Regions from separate parts of the Homo sapiens genome. Here regions 2, 3, 4 and 5 are each linked to region 1. Evidence: promoter capture Hi-C in 16 types of primary human blood cells and fetal thymus (Javierre and others, 2016). All regions are on one chromosome and are shown on one strand. Each heading gives the region's core, a stretch centred on a gene start or on the middle of the fragment in contact. The rest is flanking DNA. Distances are from core to core; before and after follow the strand shown.

Evidence for each region. The method cuts DNA at HindIII sites, captures the fragments that hold promoters and counts their contacts. A CHiCAGO score of 5 or more calls a contact.
Region 2: a contact is called between a fragment that was not itself captured here and the fragment with the promoter of EML6 in region 1, in 1 of 17 cell types (fetal thymus). The highest score is 5.2, in fetal thymus.
Region 3: a fragment that was not itself captured here is called in contact with the fragment with the promoter of EML6 in region 1 in 1 of 17 cell types (M2 macrophages); the score reaches 6.2 in M2 macrophages.
Region 4: a contact is called between a fragment that was not itself captured here and the fragment with the promoter of EML6 in region 1, in 1 of 17 cell types (fetal thymus). The highest score is 5.3, in fetal thymus.
Region 5: a fragment that was not itself captured here is called in contact with the fragment with the promoter of EML6 in region 1 in 1 of 17 cell types (naive B cells); the score reaches 5.3 in naive B cells.

Annotation. Positions count from the first base shown.
Region 1 is chr2:54,721,997-54,726,351 of GRCh38, reverse strand. It overlaps EML6 (EMAP like 6), which reads right to left and starts at 2,690. Exons shown (of 42, transcript NM_001039753.4): 1 at 2,575-2,690; 2 at 1,094-1,803. The coding sequence starts at 1,290. RefSeq lists silencers at 1,487-1,636, 2,308-2,797 and an enhancer at 2,938-3,157. The HindIII fragment of the contact is 5,681 bases long and covers 1-3,227 here.
Region 2 is chr2:54,329,084-54,333,376 of GRCh38, reverse strand. It overlaps CIMIP6 (ciliary microtubule inner protein 6), which reads right to left and starts at 2,493. Exons shown (of 5, transcript NM_001100396.2): 1 at 2,376-2,493. The coding sequence starts at 2,401. The HindIII fragment of the contact is 1,716 bases long and covers 1,261-2,976 here.
Region 3 is chr2:55,180,625-55,185,396 of GRCh38, reverse strand. CLHC1 (clathrin heavy chain linker domain containing 1) reads left to right here. Exons shown (of 13, transcript NM_152385.4): 10 at 3,653-3,827; 11 at 4,685-4,772. Among named protein-coding and RNA genes, the nearest start is that of CLHC1, 49 kb to the left of the region's middle. The HindIII fragment of the contact is 209 bases long and covers 1,701-1,909 here.
Region 4 is chr2:55,043,986-55,048,936 of GRCh38, reverse strand. All of the region lies in intron 1 of RTN4 (reticulon 4), which reads left to right. Among named protein-coding and RNA genes, the nearest start is that of RTN4, 4.0 kb to the left of the region's middle. The HindIII fragment of the contact is 1,815 bases long and covers 449-2,263 here.
Region 5 is chr2:55,161,406-55,166,400 of GRCh38, reverse strand. No RefSeq gene overlaps it. Among named protein-coding and RNA genes, the nearest start is that of CLHC1, 68 kb to the left of the region's middle. The HindIII fragment of the contact is 3,144 bases long and covers 1-2,980 here.

The DNA of each region.
Region 1 (4,355 bases), core at 1,441-3,940:
ATCACTTCATTTATTTCATTGTGAAAGACAAACTTAGAGCAAAAGTGGCAATATTCTGAGAATGTAATGGTAGTTGTTCTACATCAATGAAACACACAAGTTTGGAAGGTATAAATATGGTCTCTGTCAGTTGTAGTCCATCCTCAGCAAGTCATTTTCCCTGTGGGCTGAGGCTCCCATATGACGAAAATCTTCCTTAACTGCTGAAGGCTGAAAAGGATTCCCTGTGAACAGCATCTGGCCCATACCTTGTTTGCTCACATAAAAGCTGACAAGGGCTGGAGGAAAATGTGTCTGGTCCAAAGATGAGAGGATAGGGCCAAGAATCACAATATAACCCCTTTCCATTTAATCGGGAGGGCCCCTAAAACGGCCATTCATCCAAATGAGCTCTCCTGTCAGTCAGTCTTGGGCCATCCGCTAGCAGATGTTGGTCATTGTGTGGGCTGGCTGGTAGGATTTTGTGATCCAGCAGCTGCCAGCCTTTAATAACCTCAATGATGCTGTGGAAGCATCCATTTAGTGTATAAATATGCTTTGGGCATTAAAACACTGCCAAGTGAAATATTAGAGAACAAACTCCCCACCCACTGCAGAAATTTCCCAGGTCCAAAGCATCTGAGATGAAGATTCCAAATTACCAGTAGTAAAATTTCTTTTAGATCTTTTTTAATCCTCTTGCTTACTGAGAAACCCACTGAGGAGCCTCCCAAAGATGATGCCCACACTTCAGGTTATTGGTCCTACCGTGCACCTGGTTAGGGAAGGAAGAAGTGTTTCATAGTTACCCAGGCTCCTTCCACTTGTAGCAGGAAAGAACAGCAAGAAAGCATCAGAACACTCAACTCCTTGGAGATTTAAAAGCCAGAATTCCGGAGGGATACAGCGAAAAGACATCTCTCCCTCCTCACCTACACTCCCCACACTGTTTCTGCCCTGGCCCTAGAATCAGCAGCCCTTCAGTAATTCCATGCGGCTCCAGAGAGAATCCTCTATTCCACGGGGCTCCCGGATCCGACCCCAGGTCAACCGCTTCCCACCTTCCCAGCCTCCACACGCAACCCCTCCCCGCCGCCCCTGGCCACCCCCTTACCTGATAATGTCGTCGTTGTGTCCCAGGAAGAATTTTTGGCTGTGCTCGCGGGTGTTGTAAACCACCCCGACCCCAGCCACAAAGTAGACCACCTCCTTGCCTGCCGTGTAGTACAGGTTGTTGCGGCACTGGTGACCCCGGTACCCGTACACCCACTCCAGCCGGAGCTGGCAGCGGGGCGCCGTCCGATCCGCCATGATAAGCCGACCCCGCGCGCCCCCCGCCCCCCCGCGCGCCGGGGCCGTCCTCGCCGAGGCTGGGGCTGCGGCGGACCTGCAGGGGCTCAGCGCGCGGCGCAGGGCGCTGATTTCCGCGGCGACACACAGGCACAGCCCAGCGGGCCGGCCGCCACCATCATCCGCTGCAGCCGCCGCAGACAAGCCGCCGCCGCCGGTGTGCGGCCGCCAGACCCCGCCGGGCGCCGGGCTCCCTCTACCCGGGCAAGGCGGCTCTGGGGGCGCCGGCACCGGCGCGCGCGCCTCACTGCACCTGCGGGCTCCGGCCCCCGGGAGAGGCTCTCGGGGGGGCCACCCCGCCTTTTACATCAGGAATCTGCATATCCCAACAGCGATCACCCAGTTCGCTCACTGAAGTTTGCGGTGCGCCGGGGCTTCGCGGCAGGCGGCGGGATTTATTCTGCGATAGCCTTGATTTGACAGGCAACCCGGGTGAGCTCTGCCATCGCCGTCTTTGGATCCGAAATTGACAGTCTATATCCAGGAAGCGAGAGCGAGGAAGAAAGAAACAGATTTTTCGCATAAGTCACCCAATCCAAGAAAATTATCCCCAAACTAAACCAAGTTGGGTATTTTTAAAAATTGTCCCCTACTCCCGCTTTCTCTCTCCAGTTCCATCTCCTTAATGATATGAAATATGCGTAAATGCTGCTGCCTGGCAGTTGCTGATGCGATTTGAAGGAACGCTTGCTGTTTCCCTAATAAGCGAGGGCGAATATGCAATGGTCATTTTTTAGATGCTCCAATTAGTTTTCATGTGTGTGTTTAATAATCATATCCTCCGTGAACCTTCTCTTCACCGAGAAAGCCATAAAGAACTTAGCAGCTCTCATTGATCAGCAACTCCAATCCGCATCATGAAAGATTGTCTTACTCGGAAGAAACGAGGCACTAGTGCAGTCGGAGGGAGTGCGCTACCTACAAACGCTCCTGGTCGAGGAGAAATCAAATAACAAGTGGCAAAAATCGTGTACTTCTCCCCAGAAACCTCTGCGCTAAACACCGGGTCCCACGGAATCCCGGGTCCTGCCCTGAGCCCAGCGTGGAGAGGGGTCGCCCGAGGGACCCGGGGGACAGCAACCCCCCACAGACGCACACGTCCCGGGGGTCGGCGCGCTGCGCGAGGGATGCCCGCCCTCAGGACTGTTCGGCCCGCGCGCACTGCCGCCCTGGCGGCGCCCTGCACTCCTCCCACTCTCGAACCAGCCTCGCCCGCGGAGCATCCGCGCGCTCTCTGCCTCTAACCTCTGCTGCCAGCGGACGCCACCGGCGCGTCCCGGATCCCGCGCGGGCGAGCGAGCGAAATCCTCTGCCTGCCCTCCCCTCCCCGCCTCCCGCACCCGGGGATGGACTTCGTCACTGGGGCGCCGCGGGAGACAGGTTCTTCCTCCAGCCGGGGCTCCGGGGGCGGGGCCACAACGCCGCGCTAGTGAACCTCAGCTGCCGGTTACTAGGCGAGATCTCGCCGCTTGGAAACAGCGACGCCCCGGAGGACTGGGGCCGCCCCCTCCCTCTGCCTGTCCCTGTGGCCTCTTCCCCCGACGCATCCTGGGAAGTGTAGTCCTCTCTGCGCCGGTTAGGGCGGACAGCGCGCGGAAGGGACCACAAGTCCCAGGATTCCGCGCGCCCAGAGGGAGTCGCAGCGAGACCTGTACCGGCGTCAGCGGAGCCTGCGGCTCTCGGGGTGAGGAGATCCCGGCTCACCAAGGACGATTGCCTGCCCACGCGGGCGTTCCCTTGTGACTGAGGCGGGAGCTGGCGTGCGTGGGTCTCTGTAGAGAAAAGCGGTGGAGTTGGAATGGAGACGGTCTCCCAGCCCACCACTGGAATTTCTCCTTCATCGGTCTCTGAGTGTTGCTGTAACCGACATCCTCACCATGCTGTAACTGACTCAAGCTTAAGTTTGTTTCCTACTTAAGTTTTCCTTTTCATTCACATGGATTTTAATTTGTTAAAGTGCAGTTCTGCCAAGTTTAAGAAAAATGCTGGGAATGTGAGCTCACTTCTGCCCTAAGAACCAGCGTCTTCCCATGACCTGCGTCCTAAATTAGAGGACTTGGGTATTTACAGATAACCGGAGGTTGGAAGCAGGAAGGTGCTCACGCCATGAACAGCTAACCTTGGCCTTCAAACGCAGAAGCTGGTGGCATTTCTCCTAAAACTGCCCGAGATGAACTATGAATCCACTGTGTTCTCAAGTAGCCTATTTCCAATTTAGGGCCATAGCTAGTCTTTGGAAAGAGATTTCAAAATCCCAGTGACTAAGAGGCTGCAAAAGGATGATGGATTGGACGTTTGGAACGTCCTTTCCCTCCCATGCTTTCAGTGTAATCGCTTACTCAGTTCATCTCCCTCAAGTTTTAAGACAACCCTCCGACCTGGTAGGAAAGCTCGAAAGAACTGGAAGTGCCAGAGTTTGGATGATTTGTTGCTGCCCGCAGTAATGAGGATTTGAATTGGTCTCATCTTTGTTTTTAAGGAAACAGAATCAACAAATAAGTGAGATGGCACTGTGCTAGGCAACAAGAACACTGCCAAAAACAAAAACACGGCCTGAGAAAGGTTTGAGATAGAAGCAAAAATATAGTTGATCAATGATGTCGTGCCATAAAACAGTGCCAAATGAATTATATAAAGACAGTAAGTTTTTGTTGTTCTTTTTGTTTTGTTTTGTTTTGAGACAAAACAGGCCGTTGCCCAGGCTAGAATATCGTGATCTTGGCTCACTGCAACCTCCGCCTCCTGGGTTCAAACGATTATCCTGCCTCAGCCTCCTGTGTAGCTGGGATTACAGATACGCACCACCACGCCCAGCTAATTTTTGTATTTTTAGTAGAGACAGGGTTTCGCCCTGTTGGCCAGGCTGGTCTCCAACTCCCGACCTCAGGTGTTCTGCCCGCCTCGGCTTCCCAAATTGCTGGGATTACAGGCATGAGCCACTGTGCCTGGCCAGTAAGTTCTATATAAGAATTCAGAAGAGGAAGAGTTTTTCCAGATAAAATACATCAGGAAAAGTTTCATGGAGG
Region 2 (4,293 bases), core at 869-3,368, 390 kb after region 1:
AGCTCCCAGCACAGCTGGCTCAGGATATTTAGGTCTCAGCTTAAAACCATCTCCTCAGCAGCTTTTCCTAGATTTCTTTCCTCTACCACATGTATTCTCTATTTTAGTACTTTGTTCATTTCTTTTATTAACACCACAATTTTTTATGTACCTAGTTTTTTGTTTACTTGTTTTTAGTAAGCACTACAAATATCCTTTACTAGTCAATAAGTTCCATGAAGGTGTACATTGTTGAATTCACCATGTGCCCAACATCAGGAAAAGTGTCCTGTTCATCCAAGGTAAATGGACTGCCATTATAACATTTACATATTTCTGGTGAATCTGCTGGAGTTTACTCCAGCTTTGTTTGAATACCCTCAACCACCCCTCCAGTACACATAAAAACAACATTCAGAATCCTTGGATTCTAGTTCCCTGCTTCCCAAAAATTACTTTCTGCAAAGGATTTGGAAAAACTGATTACTGGTAAAGTGTAAAAAACTTCTAAACCTTTTTCTATTACCTTTCCAGAGATACAATTATTTATTTAAAGGTAGAGTCTTTGGGGTCAATTAATTTATTATTGTAGGCTTCTGGCATCAGTTTTTTCCACCTGTTTCTCATAGTTATCACCCAACAATATACACTTGTAGTGATCAAGTCCTTGAAGAAAAGGACTGGGGCTATTTGTTATATAGTTAAATTCATTTGATTAAGCACTTGTGGTATGAATGCCTACGGGTTGATAAATAAGTGTGAAATATATGACTCGAGCAATCTCTTGCCAGAAGAAAAGCACAGATAAAAACACTGATGGGCTCTGAAGTGAGTCAGACAGGGACTGGAATCCCAGTTCTGCCATATCTGAGCCTTTGTCTCATTTGCATGATAGGAACAATACCTATTGTAAGAGATATGAGAATAACATTGAATAATTCATTGTTTCAACAGATATTTATTGAGTTGCGTGCCAGGTGCTGTTGGAGGCACTGATGATAAAGCAGTGACAAAACAAAAATTCCTGCCCTCATAGAGCTTACACTCTAATGGGGAAAGGCGGATGAAAAAGTAAATTATATAGTCTGTTAAGTGCTAAGGACAATAATAAAATAGAGAATGGGAAAAGGGAGTGTATGTATGTAGGAGGTAGGTTTGCATTTTCAGGTAGGGTGGAGGCTGCATTGTGAAGGTGGCAAATGAAAAAAGAGGGGAAGAGAGAGCTAAGTGCATATTTGTGGGAAAAGCATTCTAGCAGAGTGAACTGTAACTGCCAAAGCTTCCCAGCAGAAGTGTAACCATCCTTAGCGCACTGCTTCTAAAAGTATGGGCACTGGAGTAGCAGCATTGGCATCAATTGTGACCTTGTTAGAAATACAAATTTATGGGGCCCATTTCCTTTATGTACCTAGTTTTTTGTTTACTTGTTTTTAGAAAGCACTGCAAACTCAGAATCTCTGGGGCTGGTTCCCAGGAACGTGTTTTAACCAGCTGTTTCGCTGATTCTTATGCACGTTCAAGTGTGAGAACCATTGTTCCAGGGACAAAAATACAGGCTTTGGAAGAGGGTATCCCTGGCTCCACATCATTCCTAACTAGCTGTATGTACTACCTTGATTAATAGTCTCAATTTAAGGTACATCAGAATCACCTGGATGCCTTGGTTGAAGCCAGATTATTGAGCCCCAGCCATAGAGTTTCTGATTCTGTGTGTCTCGGGGGTGGGAAGTCCCCAAAATTTGCATTCCTAACAACCAGGTGCTGCTGATGCTGGTCTTTATCACTGCAGATGATAGCAGAAAGGCCTGTTTGCTGTAGCAGAGTCCTGTCAGAGGGAGGCAAGAAACGGTAAGGGGCGTGTTGTGTAGACTCCATAGGCCATTGGAGGTGCCTTGGCTTTTACTCTACGATGTCGGATGGAGAACGGCGATCTAACCTGGGCTGTAAACGGATAGCTCTGACTGCTGTGTCGAGGAGGCTGCAGAGGGGTAAGGGAAAAGCAAAGCCACCAACTGGAGGGCTGTTGCAGCATCCCGGCAAGAGAAGCTGGTACTTGGGACTGGGTGGGCACAGTACTGAAAGTGATGAGCAGTGGTAGATTCTGGATAATTTTAAAGGTAAAGACTACAGAATCTGCTAATAATTGTGAGAAGGAGTGGATGACTTCAAGAATTTTAGATCCGGTAATGCAAGTCAAGTCCCTGACACACAGTATGTGCTCAGTAAACGGTGCGTTTTAAAAATTATTGTTGTAAGCGCTCAGCCAACTGGAAATTAGAGAAGCAAGGGGGCTGTCTGAGCTTGGCCTGGACTGTCCATGCTGGATCCCGGCCTCCCCCTGAAGGAGGAAAATAGTTTTTGGAAAGGGAAATAAGACACCAAACCCCAGCACTTACTGATGCTTATCTTCCTTTTCCTCCATGGGCCTCTACGGCACCAGGCAGCGAGGAGCCTCCTGGGAAGAACAGGGACGCAGCCCTGCCAGGAAAAGGGTGCGCAAAGCGCGGCGACTGTGACTCGCGCGTTGCTAAGCGACGGGCGCTAGTCCTCGGAAAGGGGCGTGGGGGGAAACTCCTGGAGTGCGCAGGCGCAGTTAAGCCGGGTTGGTGCTGGACTGTTGCTCACTGTGCGCGACTGCGCGGCGAGGAGGGCGGGGGTGCCTGGCCGCGTCTCTAGGCGTGTGGGCTCGACGCCCTGCGTTTGAACTTGCCCTTCCCATTGTAGGGCCAGGAGGGGTGTTTATCAGGACTGATTTGGTCCTTGAGGATAGGGGAAGGGCTGTTTCCGGAGCTGCGGGGCAGCGCTGCTGCCGTCTCCGCCGTGCCCGCCCTCCGGAGCCCGGCAGGTCGTCGTCAAAGCGCTGCCACGGGTCGCCCAAGCTGGCTGCAAAAGTGCGGGCCGGCGGGAAGGATACTTGTTTTCCCTTGTATTGTTAACAATACTGTGCGAGTCGTGATTGGTTGCTCCTGAGCTGCCTAGCCTTTACTCCAGAAAGCTTGGTTGTCACTGTTTTCCACCATTTCTGACAAAACCTTCCCCGGCTGGGCTGCCAGGATTAAAATAGAGCAAGGGAACACTCATCTCCTGCAAATGAGGCTCCCTGCTGTGTGTCATCTGTTGCAGCCTGAGCGGGGTTCAGAATAGGGTAGCTTAGGCAGCGGGTTGGGGCTTGTATGTGTAGCACTTACCCAAAAAGAGCAAGCTCCTGGGAAAAGCCGTTGCTGACTTGCATCCACCTTCTGGCCCTGGAATTTCTTACTTCATTTCACCATTGCCTCCCAATTTCCACTACCAGAGCCAAAAGTCTTTGGCATCTGTCATAGTAACTCACGCATTTCCCTGGATAACGGAAAAAGAAAAGTCCAGAGTTGAATTCTGCCTTATATCAGGCTATGCATACGTATATGTTTGGAATCCAGAGTCAGTGTTCGTGTGTGTGTTTACATTCACCTTGGAGAGTGATGGGAGAGCAGAGGTTGGTCCTAGGACTCATTTTATGTATGTGACCTGAAATCCTATCAGGAAGAAGAATATATGTGTAGATTTGACACCTAGTGACCTAAATACCTGAGTGTGGACTTCGTTGTTAAAGACTGGAGTGTGTGTGAATGTGTCATTGTGTGTGTGTGTGTTTGGTGAGTAAGGAGTGGATGAGTAAATAAATATGGGGCAAGTGGGTTGAAAACCAGAAAGCAGGGGGAACTAATAGCAATTGAGCTTCCACTAGGGGACCAGGCATTTGTTAGGCATTGTATTAAACACCACCTGCTTATCTGGTCTTATCCTAACCATCACACTGTGATTAGGAGCTTAGGGTCTGGGAGCAGTCAGTGTTTGAAACCTGGCTTTACCACTTAACTAGCTAGTTCACTTGGGCAAATGATCTAACCTCTCTGAGCCTCAATTTTTTTCATCCACAAAATGGGGAAAATACCTAGGGTTGTTGTGAGGTGTAGATGATTTAATACAGGCAGAGTACTGAGAACAGGGCCCGATGCTTAGTAAGTGCTTTGCCATTATTTTTATTGATCAACTTGATCTGCTTATGCTGCCACATGTCCTTGAGGGTTAGTCAACTCCCTCATCATTCCCCCTAATTTCTGCTTCAACCTTCACCAATCTCTTCAAGTCCTAAAACCACTTACCCTCAGGAACAATCTCAGGGCTTAAAGAAATGAGGGCATTTTCTCAACTTGATCCTTTCAGACTGACAAGTTCACCTGCATCCGTACAGGATTAGAGTCATTTGCCTCTCTTTTGAGCGGTATGGTATTAGTTTTAAATATATTTATGTCAATCTCTGTTAAGTAGCTT
Region 3 (4,772 bases), core at 556-3,055, 460 kb before region 1:
GCCTCAGCTTTTTCTAGGTCCTGGAAGGGGGTATCATCTGACTGGGTGAGGAATAGCTTTTTAAATAGCCTTTCAGCCATGATTTCTAGTTTTAGCCCATCTCATTACAGAGGTTCCCGGTGCTGGCAATTCCTGAGACTTTCTGTGTTGTTTGGTGTGAATTGGATAGCTTCTTCTTGGTTTTCCTTATTGGTAGTTTAGGAATCAAACTTTTAAGGCTCTGCGTCTGCTATGCTAGTTTCTACTCTCTATTTTCTGGCTTTCAGAATTTTGTTATTTCCTTTTAAATTTATTCTTATGAAATCCCTTTACCATTATTTTAATGATTTTAATGAACTAAAATTGAATGTGTGTGTTCAGTCTACCGTCTTTACCTGAAAGTCTAATTGAATTGTCGTGAATCTTGTTAATCTATAGTAGGTATAGGAAATCTTTGTGTGTGTGTGTGTGTGTGTGTGTGTGTGTGTGTGTGTGTGTTTTGTTTTTTTTTTTGAGATGGAGTCTCAGTCTGTCACCCAGGCTGGAGTGCAGTGGCACGATCTCAGCTCACTGCAACCTCCGCTTCCTGGGTTCAAGCGATTCTCCTGCCTCAGCCTCCTGAGTAGGTGAGATTAAAGGCAGGTGCCACCACACCTGGCTAATTTTTGTATTTTTAGTAGAGACAGGGTTTCACCCTGTTGGTTAGACTGGTCTCGAACTCCTGACCCTGTGATCCACCTGCATTAGCCTCCCAAAGTGCTGGGATTACAGGTGTGAGCCACCGCGCCTGGCCTAAGAAATCTTTCATCTTCTGCCATCATATGTGTGTGTAAATGTATATATATTTAACTTATCACAAAACATGAAGAAGATAGAATGTTATAAAATGTTGGATAGGAGGCACAATATCTTTGTTTCAATGTTATCTTTACTATACACTTGCATTGTGTTCTTTGAGCAAGCTACTTTATCTACTTGAAACTCAGTTTTATTACTTGAAAAACAGGAATGTTGGCCAGGTGTGGTGGCTCATGCCTGTAATAGCAACACTTTGGGAGGCTGAGGCAGGCAGATTGCTTGGCCCAGAAGTTCAAGACCAGCCTGGGCAACTGGTGAAACTCTGTCACTGCAAAAAATACAAAAAATTAGCCGGCCGTGGTGGCACATTACTATAGTCCCAGCTACCCAGGAGGCTGAAGTGGGAGGATCACCTGAGCCTGGGAAGTTAAGATTACAGTGAGCCGTGATCGTGCCACTGCACTCCAGCCTGGGCAACACAGTGAGACCCTGTCTCGAAAAAAAAAAAAAAAATAAAGAAAGAAAGAAAAGAGAGAAAACAGGCCGAGCATGGTAGCTCACGCCTGTAATCCCAGCACTTTGGGTGGCCAAGGCAGGCGGATCACGAGGTCAAGAGATCGAGACCATCCTGGCCAACATGGTGACACCCTGTCTCTACTAAAAATACAAAAATTAGCCGGGCGTGGTAGCACGCACCTGTAGTCCCATCTAAATGGGAGGCTGAGGCAAGAGAATTGCTTGAACCTGGGAGGCAGAGGTTGCAGTGAGCCGAGATCGCACCATTGCACTCCAGCCTGGCGACGGAGCGAGACTCCATCTCAAAAAAAGAAATAAAGAAAAGAAAACTAGGAATGTTAATGATACCCACCTTGTTAGGGTTATTGGTTAAGACCAGCTGATAATTTCAAAGCACTATACAAGCTTTAGGGGTTTTTAGCACCATGCCACTTATTCAGAATTAATTTTCTTTACAATACAGTATATCTGAGAGTTGAGAAGTAAGTTTAAAAAGTCTGTGAACAATAAAAAATAGGTATTATATATTATCTTGTGAAAATCCATACATTTCATTAGTAGACCCTCAATCGGACGCAGAATCTATTTTTTATTTCATACCTGGTTTTACCAAGCTTTGATCTATGAAACTGGATCATAGATCAGTTAGACTTGATAGAGTCTAAAGTTCAAGCTAGACTTGACAGAGTACAAAGCAAGAAACAACTTTATTCTTCCTCGCCATTGCCCTTTAAAAGGGCTGTGTTGGCGTTCCTATTTCTTTTACTGGATAATATCTTGGTCATGTCACATAGCTTTTTTTCACTCGCTTTTAGATATTAATAGTTTTATTTTTAGGTACCCAAAAGTCTAGTCTAAACTAAATAGAAACTGCAATCTCTTGTTTAATCTAAAATTTTTCCCCTTACCCTGGTTAGGCTCTGATTTGGCTCTAGAACCTATTGAGGCTCAGGAGACATGTTTGCTTCTTCTTTACTCTGCTACTCTCTCCTCTTCTAATCACTAGGCAGCTTTACAGTGGGGTTATATAAGGGACAGGAAAGGTCTTACTCAACTGGTGCAGTGGTCATTAGGCTTTGATGTTTCTTGGGTGTGGTAGATGCCCAATGTTGCCTCCTAGTTTACTGCTTTAGTCTTTGTTTTTTAGGGCCTTCCCTCACTGGGGACTTTCCATTGTGCCTTTTATTGATTCAGGAGGTATTACTTTAGCTGGCTGCTAATGATTCTGGTGGTGTGTACCCCCAAAGACTCTCTCAGGTGGGGTTATCTGGTCTGCATGCAGACCTCTCTGAGAGAGCCTTTTCAAGACAACCAGCCTACCCGCCTTTCATGGAATCTCCTTCACCCTTAAGGAACATGCAATCTTGTGAAAGTAGAATTTGCTCGTACTTTAATTCTCTTTACTCACTCTAGCCTTTCACCTTTAAACTTTCCAGGCAAATATCAGGCTCTGGTCTTTTTGTTCTCTAAATTCCAAGACATCCATATCCAGTAGTTCTCTCTAAACTGTCTCACTTGACTTTGAGGAGGAGAATTAAAGAAAAATCTAGGAAATAAGATATGGTGGTAAATTTATTTTCTGCTCACAAAAAGGAAAATAATCTGATGGATTAATTAAGAGTTCAAATTGACAGTCTTCCTCCCCTGCAAGTTCAAGCATTGAGTGTACATACAGCTTAATAAAAAATGAATTGTAGTCATGCTGATTTGGGATTGACATACTTTTTTGGTCACTGGCTGAATCTACATGTAAATTTCAGGATCCTAATTTGTCATCCTCATTGAATTATTTTCAAAGTTAGGGTATGTTAGACTAAGTATATTCCTTTAAATGTCCAGTTTTATATTTGCCTCATTTGATTGGTCATTAAAGCAGGATAGTTTGCATTAGGAATTTTATCCTCTGTGTATCTGCAGCTGCACCTTTTGTTCTCTTCGGTCATAGCAAATTGGCCTCATTAACAGCAGAACCCTATTACTTAAAAGAAAAATATATTCGCTCACAGTTCTGGAGGCCAGAGCTCTGAAATCATGGTGTCAAGGGTTCATTCCTTCTGGAGGCTCTAAGGGAGATTCCATTCCATGCCTCTCTCCTAGCTTCTGGTGGTTGTCAGCGATTTTTAGCCTCCCTTGGCTTGTAGCAGATCATTCCAATCTCTGCCTCCATCTTCACATGGCACGTGATATTTAGTCATTTAGATAAAGTTTAATCTATAAGCATGAGTTAAAAATTATAAATGTGTAATTTTAGATTGTTAAAGTTTTAGAAAAGCAAAGGCACAAAAATAGTAATATGAGATAAGAAAAAGCAAACTATTTCTTAAAGTATTTGACTCAGAAAATTTTCTCCTTTCTGTAGCTGTTGGAAAAATTAGAGGAAAGCCTCTTCCATTACTCTTATTTTTTGAGGCCCTCTTTATCACAAGTCATGCTTTTCCATGTCCTGTTGATGCAGCTCTAACCCTGGAAGGAATCAAATGTGGATTATCAGAAAAACGGTTAGATTTAGTTACCAATTGGGTTACACAGGAAAGGTAAGCAAAGTTAAGCTTTTAACTTAATTTTGACATTTCGTTAATAAAGTTGTTTGTTCTAAAAATATTAATAGCTTTATCAATATGTTACTTGAACATTTACTTCAGGTCCCTATTGCAATTAATCAGAAAGTGTTTAGTGGTCGGGTGTGGTGGCTCATGCCTCTAATCCCAACACTTTGGGAGGTAGAGGTGGGAGGATCGCTTGAGGTCAGGAATTCAAGACCATCTTGGCCAACATGGTGAAACCCTGTCTCTACTGAAAATACAAAAATTAGCCAGACGTGGTGGCCAGGTGCAGCAGCTCACACCTGTAATCCCAGCATTTTGGGAGTCCGAGGTGGGCAGATGACTTGAGGTCAGGAGTTCAAGACCAGCCTAGCCAACATGGTGAAACCCCATCTCTACTAAAAATACAAAAATTAGCCAGGCATGGTGGCGCACGGCTGTAGTCCCTGCTACTCAGGAAGCTGAGGCAGGAGAATCGTGTGAACCAGGGAGGCAGAGGTTTCAGTGAGACGAGATCGCGCCACTGCACTCCAGCCTGGGTGACAGAGCGAGACTCAATCTAAAAATATATATATATATGCATTTAGTTTCCTGTAGAAATCTAATTTTCTTAGCAAATACACCACTACATTCCAAATAACTTTATTTTCATATTGACTATTATCGGGGTGATAGAAATTGACAAGTAATCATTTCAATTACATAATCAATTGCCTATTAAATTGTAACTTGGAATTCTTACAGGTAGTAGAAAATCCAGTCCTACTGTGCTGAATTTTCAAATATTTCAGTCTCAGCCACTCATCAGGAATTTTCTAACATATGTCTTATTGATCTGCTTGTTCTAGACTGACATTTTCTGAGGAGGCTGGGGATGTGATTTGTGATTATGGGGAGCAGGATACTTATAACAAGGCCAAGTGCCTGGCTTTAGCT
Region 4 (4,951 bases), core at 107-2,606, 320 kb before region 1:
ATTGCTGTTAGTGTGGACTTGGCCCAGCCTCTTAGTGCATCATAATTGAATCTTACAGAAAAAAATAAAAGGCAAAATGGTTGACATTCCTAAAGAAGGGAAAACCTGTGGATTCCTTGCCAGGAATTGGCTAATTGAACTCGTGGCAGATTTACCATGAGACACAGAGAAATGTTTTGAGACAGACATTTTCATATATATTGGTTAGAAATACTGTTTTTCAGAAGGATATGTTTTAGGTTACAGAATCAAAATACGGTCACGTGCCTCATAACGACGTTTAGGTCAAGGACAGACCGCATTTGCAACGGTGGCTCCATAAGGTTGTAATGGAGCTGAAAAATTCCTGCCGCCTAGCGACGTCTTGATCTTGACCCTGTGTAGGCCTAGGGTAATGCGTTTGTATCTTAGTTTTTAACAAAAGTTAAAAAAAAAATAGAAAAAAGCTTATAGAATAAGAATATAAAATTTCTTTTCTATAGCTTTAAAATGTGTTTGTGTTTTAAGTTAAACGTTATTACAAAAGAGCCAAAAAGTTTATAAAATAGAAAAGATACAGTAAGCTAAGGTTGATTTATTATTGAAAAAATATATCTAAAGATAAATTTAGTGTAGCCTAACCGTAGAGTGTCTGTAAGTTGTACAGTAGTACATGGTAATGTCCTAGGCCTTCACATTCACTCACTACTCACGTCCACAGCAGCTTCCAGGCTGGCAAGCTCTGTTCATGGCCAGTGCCCTGCACACGTGTGCCATCTTTTAATCCTTTGTACAGTGTTATTTTAGGTATGTTTAGATAAACACTACACAAATACCATTGTGTTACAGTTGCCTACAGTAACATCCTGTATAGGTTAGTAGCCTAGGAGCAATTGATTATACCATATAGCCTACATATAGGTATGTAGTAGGCTCTACCATCTAGGTTTCTGTAAGTATACTGTGAGGTTTGCACAACGACAGAATTGCCTAACAATACATTTCTCAGATCCTGTTCCCCCTGTTCAGCGAGGCATGACTATGTATGGTCTGTAAAATAGTTTTCAAGTTCTTTCATTCACCTAAGTTCCTGATTGTATGTTATTATTAGTCACGTTGTTTTATTGCCGTTTTCATCTTGGGAAATTATTTTGGAAGCGAAAAAAATCACGTTTGTTAGAGATTGAGAATGCATAATATTAGATACATTCATAAGTACTTGCTACTTCGGGGACAGAAAGTGTCCCACTAGCAGTAGGACCTTTATGTATAAAAGGTCAAGAATCAAGTAGTGTAACTGCCTGCTTGGAAATCTTCATAGCCTTGTAGGATGTTAGAGGTGATTCATTTCTTAAAAGAAAATCAGTCTGATTTTTTTTTTTCTCAATTCACTTCTCCATAATGGGGGAAAATAAGCCAATTGCGATGCTTTTTAGTAATATTTTGATGTTGACGGACTCCTCACCCCCATACTACTCAAAACACTAATTGCCATATTAAAGGTCTTAGAAGATGAGGAGTAACTCAATCTTTTCCTTTTTCTTTATGAAAAAGACATACTTGAGGGAAACTGAGGTAAGAGAAAAATATGAAATATATTTTTAAACAGGAATTTTTTTTTTTTTTTTTTGAGATAGTCTCCCCCTTGTCACCAGGCTGGAGTGCAATGACGCAATCTTGGCTCACTGCAACCTCCGCCTCCCAGGTTCAAGTGATTCTCCTGCCTCAGCCTCCCGAGTAGCTGGGATTACAGGCGCCTGCCACCACGCCTGGCTAATTTTTGTATTTTTAGTAGAGACGGGATTTTACCATGTTGGCCAGGCTGGTGGTCTTGAACTCCTGACCTCCAGTGATCCACCCACCTTGGCCTCCCAAAGTGTTGGGATTACAGGCATGAGCCACTGCGCCTGGCCACAGGAAGTTTAATGATTGACAAAAGCATACTAATCTTGTATTGGTATGGGAACAAAGAAAATAGTTCTGTCTTTGAACATTAGGGATTCAGGGGGTGACAGCACTCTCTTGGAATCTTGTGTGTTGGAATGCTGAGGTTGGAAGGCAATGGGGAAAGAATATTGCCTGTTCTACAGAGTTCCCTAATTCCATATTGATGATACCTATTGGGAAACTTTAGTTTTTTTAGTAAGTGTAAGAACATTGTGATTATGGTTGTGGATAGTTAACCATTTTCAATGTGTCTGGATTTCTTAATGCATTCAAGAGTTTGTTCATTAATTCAACCCATTATTGATTACCTACCAAGAGACAGGATCTATTCTAAGCTTTGAGGGTATAGCAATAAGCAAGACACATGCTCCCCCTTGGGAGAGTACAGATAATAAGCACATAAATAAAGAACCCAGAATAGTGGTGTTATGAGGAAAATAAACAGGATAATGGCATAGAGAATGATGGGGATTTATGGGGGCTTTTTTAGGTTAGGTGACACTAAGACAGGCTTAGAAGGTGAGATTTGAGCTGCAGAGAGAAAACATTTCCAAGCAACTTCAGGGCAAAACCCTGAGGCAGGAATGAGCTCTTTGTGTCTGAGAATCTAGTGTAAGACTAGTGAGAAAAACTAGTGGGAGAGTGAAGAGGTGGCCTTACCCACCCAGATCATTGGGGGTCTCTAACAGGCAATGGTAAAAATGTTTAGCTTTTTAAAAAAATAAAAATATGCTTATTAAATAATTATATTGTGATTTTGGAACTAAAATAAGTTTGGAAGATTCAGGGCTACTGAGAGGACTGATGTGAGACAAAGGTGAGAAATGTGCAGAGCAGGGTTAGAAGCATAGACTAGCCTGCCTGGAAGAGAGGGTTTCTAGATCACTGACACTTGTCTGTTTAACATTGCTGTTTACGTTATTTATGAGTAAGCCCTGATTTTCATCTGTTAATAAGTTGTAATTTTACTGTTTGCTGTTGTGCCCAGAGCATCTCCATCGCAATGCAGTAACTGAAGTGAGACTAAAACCTCTCACTTGAGGGCCATTTTTCATGGGAAAATACTTGGCTTAGTGGTTGGTTAAGTTAGGCTTTGAGGATATGCGCAGAAAACTCTGGCTAGAAATCGATTTGAGAGCAGTGCAAACATAATTAAGGGTGACTTCGAACTGGTCTCTGGACATGTTCTAAACCAAGGTTAATTAAGACCGAAAATATGTAGATCTGGATTCTGAAAGATACTGAATGCCAAATTAAGGAATTTGGATTTTATCATTCCACTTTAATCCATGCTCTGCTATCCAGTTGCCCTTGCTTTTGGTAATTTATATTATGAAACCAAAATTGTTTTTTTTAATTGTTGTTTCTAAAGTTATTGTTTTTCACCCCTTCTCGAATTAGAGCTTTTGGCTTTGGGAAGACAGCCATTGAAGGTTATTTGAACTGAGGCAAGGCACCGTGAAAGCAGTATTAGAAAATTGGTGACAATATTCAAGATAGGTGGGAAGGAAAAGCAGATGAATTATTTAGAAAGCTATTACAGTAGTTCTGAGAAAGATGAGTAGGGCCTGAACTATTTCATTATTTGTTCATTCAGTGAAAATGGAATAGAAGGGAGGAATATAAGAGTATAAGAAGCACGCTTTCTTTAATTGGCTGTGAATCTGTTTTTATAGTTAGTTTACGAAGAGGCTGTATGAAAGACGAATTGATAGGACTTGGAAACCATGAATGTAAAGACAAAGAAAAGAATATTAGTGCTTATTAAATCAGTTTCAGAGACTGCCAAAATTTAATTGCCATGAAAATTTGTATAAAATTGAATATTGCTCATAAATACAGATTATGGGTTGGGGCTTAAAAATTACTAGTTTTTACTATCATGAAGCCATTTATTATATGATCATTTTTATTGGCGTAGTAGCATGTATTAGAAATTTTAAGATTTTGAGTGACATATGGTTTAAATATTAGGTATCAGTTCTTAATATAAAGTCCAAGTTCCCAGGAAGTGGATGCTTCTAAACACAAGAAAGTCATGCCCTGTCCATTCCCCACTTTCATTTTTGTGATTCTGAATAATTTCTGGTTAAGCCATTTCTTATTTTTAAAAGTTGGGAATAAGTAGTATACTCCTCATGGATATGGTGAATTATGTTTCAGATTGGTTCCTGGGCAACTGAGTGTCAAATTTGTGGTCTTTTTTTTTTTTTTTTTTTTTTTTTAGTGATTTGCAAACTCTCTCAAATCCTTTTTAAAATGAAGTGATGGGTATATGTGGAACCACTGATAAATAACTGCATGGAATAGTGTTTAGAAAACATGCTATTTTAGTGCTATATTATTGTAAACTTAAAGGATTTGCCATGTTATAAAAACATTTCTGAAAAGGAGCATGTTACCTATTGTCCATTAATTGGCTTTGTTTTATGTGTAGTTATTTTCTTTTTAAAAATCTAAAAACCAAAAAACAATGGTCTCACTTTTGTCCAGGCTGGTCTCAAACTTGGGGCCTGAAGCAATCCTCCTGCCTGGACCTCCCAAAGTGCTGGGATTACAGGCATGAGCCACCATGCCTGGCAAGTTTTTTTGTTTGTTTGTTTGTTTGTTTGTTTCTTTTGAGACAGAGTCTTACTCTGTCGCTCAGGCTGGAGTGCAGTGGCATGATTATGGCTCACTATACCCTTGACCTCCTGGGCTTAAGCAGTCCTCCCACTTCAGCCCCCCAGGTAGCTGAGACTACAGGTGCACACCACCATGCTGGCTATTTTTAAAATTTTTTAAAAAAACTTTTATATTTATGTATTTATATTTTGGAGACAGGGTCTTGCTCTTTCACCCAGGCTAAAGTATAGTGGTGCAGTCTTGGCTCACTGCAGCCTCATCTTCTGGGCTCAAGTGATCCTGCCACCTCAGCCTCCCAACTAGCTGGGACCACAGGCACGTACCACCACGCCCGGCTAATTTTTGTGTTTTTCGTGCAGATAGGGTTTCGCCATGTTGCCCAGGCTGGGCTCAAATTCCT
Region 5 (4,995 bases), core at 159-2,658, 440 kb before region 1:
AAAAAGAAATTCACACAGGAATTTAATTTAAGTTAAAACTTTAAATTATTGCAGGGAGATGTTTTTGATAGTTAAGGTTTATGAACTTTATAAGGGGTGACAGTTCCGAGGGTGGGTTTGGAGTGCTCTTTAAAGGTCTTTAAGAACTGGCTGTACCTATATCTGACTGATTGGTTGAGGAAGGGCAGGTTCTGTGAGGGAAGGGATCACCTTTTCAGTACCCCTGCTCTGATGCTTGGATGGCCCAATACACATGTTGTGGTTGACTGTAAGGTGGCACCAAACTTAATTCTCTAAATAAGGACTTGGGCAATGTTCTTCACGGTGTGAGTTACCTGACCAGACTCAACAGATGACAATCTTCTCTCTGCCTTCAGCAGGGCTCTGCACATTTACTTCATAAGCAGTGTTGTGGGTAGGGCTCCCTGAAAAGCTGACTCTGAGACAGAGGTTTGTGTGTAGGCTGTTCATTAGGAAGTGCTCTCCGTATCCACACTGTGGAAGGGAAGAGAAGAAAGCAGGGTTGGGCAGAGGGAGAAGCTAAGCTCTGAAGTAGTCCCAGAAAAGAGCTCAGCTGACCACTTGGAATGCACTGAAGCTGGGAGGGCCCTTCTGAGGTATCCCCAGTTGGTGTGTGGAGCCAGGCCTTTAGACTTCTGTGGATGAGTCACTGGATGGGGGCTGCCACTGGAAGTAGGCATGACTTGGGCAGGGTAGTTTCCTTCAGCCCAGGAAGTCCCCAAGAGTGCTGATGGCCATGGATCTTGCTCTAGCAGCTTTTCGACCATGTGGGGGACTAAACTCTTCATTCATGAAACGGGACCTGGGGAGCGTCACAGCGTCCACCACAGCAGCTTCCCCTGGCTTCTACTTGGGTCTGAGTCTTTCCTTCACCCTTTACATAAGAAGCCTTTTCCTCCAGGAACATATTTCCCTTCCCCTCATTCCCACCCAACCCTTTGCCACCCCAGTACAGGGAGTGAGTGCAGAGCCACAGATTCTGTTTGTTTTGAAATTTATTCCTCCCTCCCTCTTTCCTCGTCTTCTTCATTTCTCTCTTTTACCTCTCATCAGGCAGATTCATGGCCTCGTGACAGCCAGACTAGATGGCAAGCTAAATGTCAAGCTGATTTCTTCCTCTTTGGAGAGTTTCCATTCTCCCTTTCGTGGCTGCGAATTCCTTCTCTGTCCTTTGCAAACACCTTGTGGATGAATCCCCATGGCAGTAGTGCAGTCAACAGCATACTGGACTGCAGCCTTCATTAGCTGAGGCACTCGTTTGTAGGAGCTCAGTCAAGGCCTGTTTCCTCCATTAGTTCTCCAAAACAGGGAAAGGCCATGGAACCGAGTAATCTCCATCACTCCTTCTAACTCCAGTGTTCAATAATATTTTGATTTGAAGGATTTTCACAACAGGAAATGGCAACAAAAGAGATGCCGGATTCCCTAGTTAGTCTTTGCTTCTTATCTCACCCACATAGAATACCAAAGTCTCTTTTCCCAACTAAACGCAAGATGTGGGATTAGTTATGGCATAGCCTGAAGTGTTTGGGGGAGTGAAGTTTTAAAACCCCAGAACATTTTGGAAACCAGTCTGTATTGAAATCAGCAAGTTCTTAGCAGCTCATCTTGCAGCTGCGCCTAGCCTGTCTGCGAGGCTTCTGTGTAAGGGTAAGTGAAGGTGAATCAGGACTTGTGTTGGGCTGCATTTGAAATGCATGGAGCAGCACACTGCAGCAAGAGAGGTTTCCTGCTGGCTTCATTCTGCTGGCCTCCCTCCCTTTTTATTAATCTTAATTTAATTGGATTTAGCTATCAGTCTTGGTATTTTCTGTAGCGATTTTTTTTTTTTAAGGCATGAGTCGGAGCCATCGTAAACACGCGCTTAGAAGGAGCTCGGCTCAGATGCCAGGTAGAGACCCCCTTCAAACTGTCCTTTCTGTTCCAGGCTGGGTGTCTCATTCAGTAATGACAGACTGAGAAATTAGCAGCACAGGGTAAAGATAGAGGAGGTAGAAGCAGGAGAGAAAAGGCTAGTGGAAAAGTGAACTTGGCTGTTCAGAGGACAGAGCTGAGTTTATTTGCATAGTAACTCAGGTGTGGTTACTTATTTACGAAACACATTTCTTATGAGGTGTGGAAAATAGGCTACCTGTGAACCTGATCCCTGGCCTAGAATGCTCATGGTCAGGAGGCAGAGCCCGGCAGGGACCCCACTCCCAAGCCCTTCCATTTCACCTCTGTAATTCCCCGTGGAAGCAGCAGAATCCAAAACGTCTTGTTTACTTGTCTTCCCCTCCCCGCGAGACTCTGAGGTCCTGAAGAGCCAGGATAAGTATTTGGTCACTGTTGTTTTCCTTGGCACATGGCAGACCTTCAGTAAATAAATGGGTAATGAATGAGCATCGGAGTAACCTGCTGAGTGACTTGGCAGTGAAGGTTGCAGCAACCTGGAAGTTGGAGGCAGGTAAATACAAAAGAGAAGGAGAAGTTTTGGATCTCCCAGACTTAGACAGGTACCCTGAAGTAAGAGGAGGGAGTTATGTCAGAGCCTAGGGACAGAGAGGCACCATTTGAAGTAGAGGTCAGCTGTAGACACACTGCAGGAGACGATCCCAAACAAACTTGACCTTCTACCAAGTACATGGACCTGACTTATTCAGAACAAGGCAAAAACCAAAACAAAACCTTAAAAAAGGCCTACCCCCAAACAGGAATTCCCCCAGACTCACGGTAATGCTGTAGCTACACAGCAGAAAGAACAAAGAAGTGATCTAAGCATCCTGAAATTGAAACGGCTATTGCTAAACGCAGGAGAATCAGCAGAATCATTAGATTCCAGAAAATGCCGAACCTCTGAGGCCTCTGTTTTCTTCCATCCTGATGTTAGATTGCTGGCAGCCCACGCTGAGCTGCTTTATGAGAATGTGCAGCTAGGCCACTGCCTCTAGAAAGATGAGGGAGGAAGGAAGGGCAAGCTTGACTTGCTTGGAATGTGGAAGCTCTGTGTCGAAGATGAGTGAATGAGCACCGGGCACTGCTGTCTCTCTGCTCCTGCTGACGAATGAGGATATGGCTGGCCCTTTCAGCTAATTAGATGCAGACATGGGTATCTCCGAGTATATATATCAGTCAGGGCCCGCCTTACAGGAAAATAGAATTTATCCATAAAGGTTCAAATAAAAAGACGTTAATAAAGAGATTATTGCCAGAGATTTGGGCAAGGTTAAGAGAACCACTAAGGAATGTTGAGTACCCAGAGGCTGCCTCAGTCAGGAACCATTACCTCCCATGGAGACAGGGCACGAGGAGGAAGGAAATCACAGTACCAGAACCAGGAAGAGCTAGAACTCTGAGAAGGAACCTCTGTGGGAGCTGTCATCATGCAGGGCAGGGATGCAGGGACATGGCTTTCAGCCACTGTCAGAGACAAGGCACCAAAGAAAGGAAGGGGTGAGGAGGAAAGATACCCCATCATCACTGGTGTTATCACTGAGGAAGGAAAGGGAAGCAGAAAGGCCTGAAGCCTGGTGGTCCTGAACAGCACATGTGGGCCGGGTACATGGGGTGCGTGGCTTATCGAAGATATGGATCTCTGTTGATTGGTCTGTTTCCCCAACTGAGAGGCTGGGATGGCTTCTGTGCAAGCTGGTGTGAGTGACCCTCCAGCGATTTGGGGGCAGCAGGCAGCCGACACTGTCATTAAGTTGACTTTACTGTAAGGTAATCCAGGCAAGAGTGGACATTTGATCTGGAACACAAGGTCTTATCACCAAATAAATATTTTATCATTCAAGTCCCCTCTGAGCTGATGCAGGGACAGGGCTTTTGTGCATGTCTGAGCCCTCTGCCTCCTCTCGGAAGTCCAACGACCCCTGTTCAGGGAAGGGGGCGGGGCTGGGGCTGAGCCATTAGAGGAGGTGGGAAAGGGGTGAGTCAGGAGACAGGGGCTGGGTTTTCCTTTCAGGACTTCTTTTCTTTTCAGAAAGATCAAATGCGATAACACGTGAAAGCATTTTGGAAGGCAGAAAATATCATAACAAACCGACCATGTCTTTTCAGAAAATGTCCCTCAGGAGGTCTAAACCATAGCTGAGCTGCTTTTATTCATTCATTTAACAGGTATTTATTGAGCACCGGCCATATGCCAAGGGCTTATTTTCTGCCTTATGGATTGGCAGGGTTCTTTGCATATTCTTTTCCACTCAGCCAGCCTGAACTTTAGAGGTTTTATGTTAACCTGTGCTGTCTAGGGTTGATGGGGAGTATAGAAGAAAGTAAAATGCTTGTCAAGGAGTGACGGGAAATATGTTGGCGGAAATGAGATTTCAACACCCGCTTCTCATTACCTCCAGCCTCATTGGCATTCTGCCTTTTTGCTAAGGAGCTGCAGGCTGGGTCTGCATAGGGAGCGAGGCCTTGAATGGCACTGCAGGGCACCATGGCAACCACACAGGTTTGCCACTAGGGAGTTCGTGTCAGGTTGTACCTTGAAGCTCATCAACTGTGGGCTCAGAAAAAAAAAAGAAGAAGAAGAAGAAGGAAAAGAAAGAAACGCTTTCCCATTCTGTGAGGTGGAGAAAAGGGGAAGGGAGGTCAGTGTGATGGATACAGCTCAGACAGGGTGCTGTCAGTAGGGATGCATGCGTCAGCGAGGACGTTTCACTTTCAATAGCAGCTCTGCTTGCTGGGAACTTGGGATGCCGGGCCCTAGCATGGATAAAGGCACACATGCCTAGCTTGGGTTATGAAATGCCAGGATGTCCTGTCAGGATGTTTGTCTTTGAGCAAGAATCAAAGGAGTAGATGGCTTTCCCCTGGTGGGGCAGTTCAGGAATCCCTGCTTGTCTTGAAGGGGAACCCCTTTGAGCAGGTCCTGGATAAACCACCCACTTCCCCCATGTCCTAGACCCATTGCTTCTGGGTGAGTAATGTTTTGCTGTTTCTTTCTCTAGTCAATAAATCAATCCTCCCACCTCATTCATATCCTGGTAA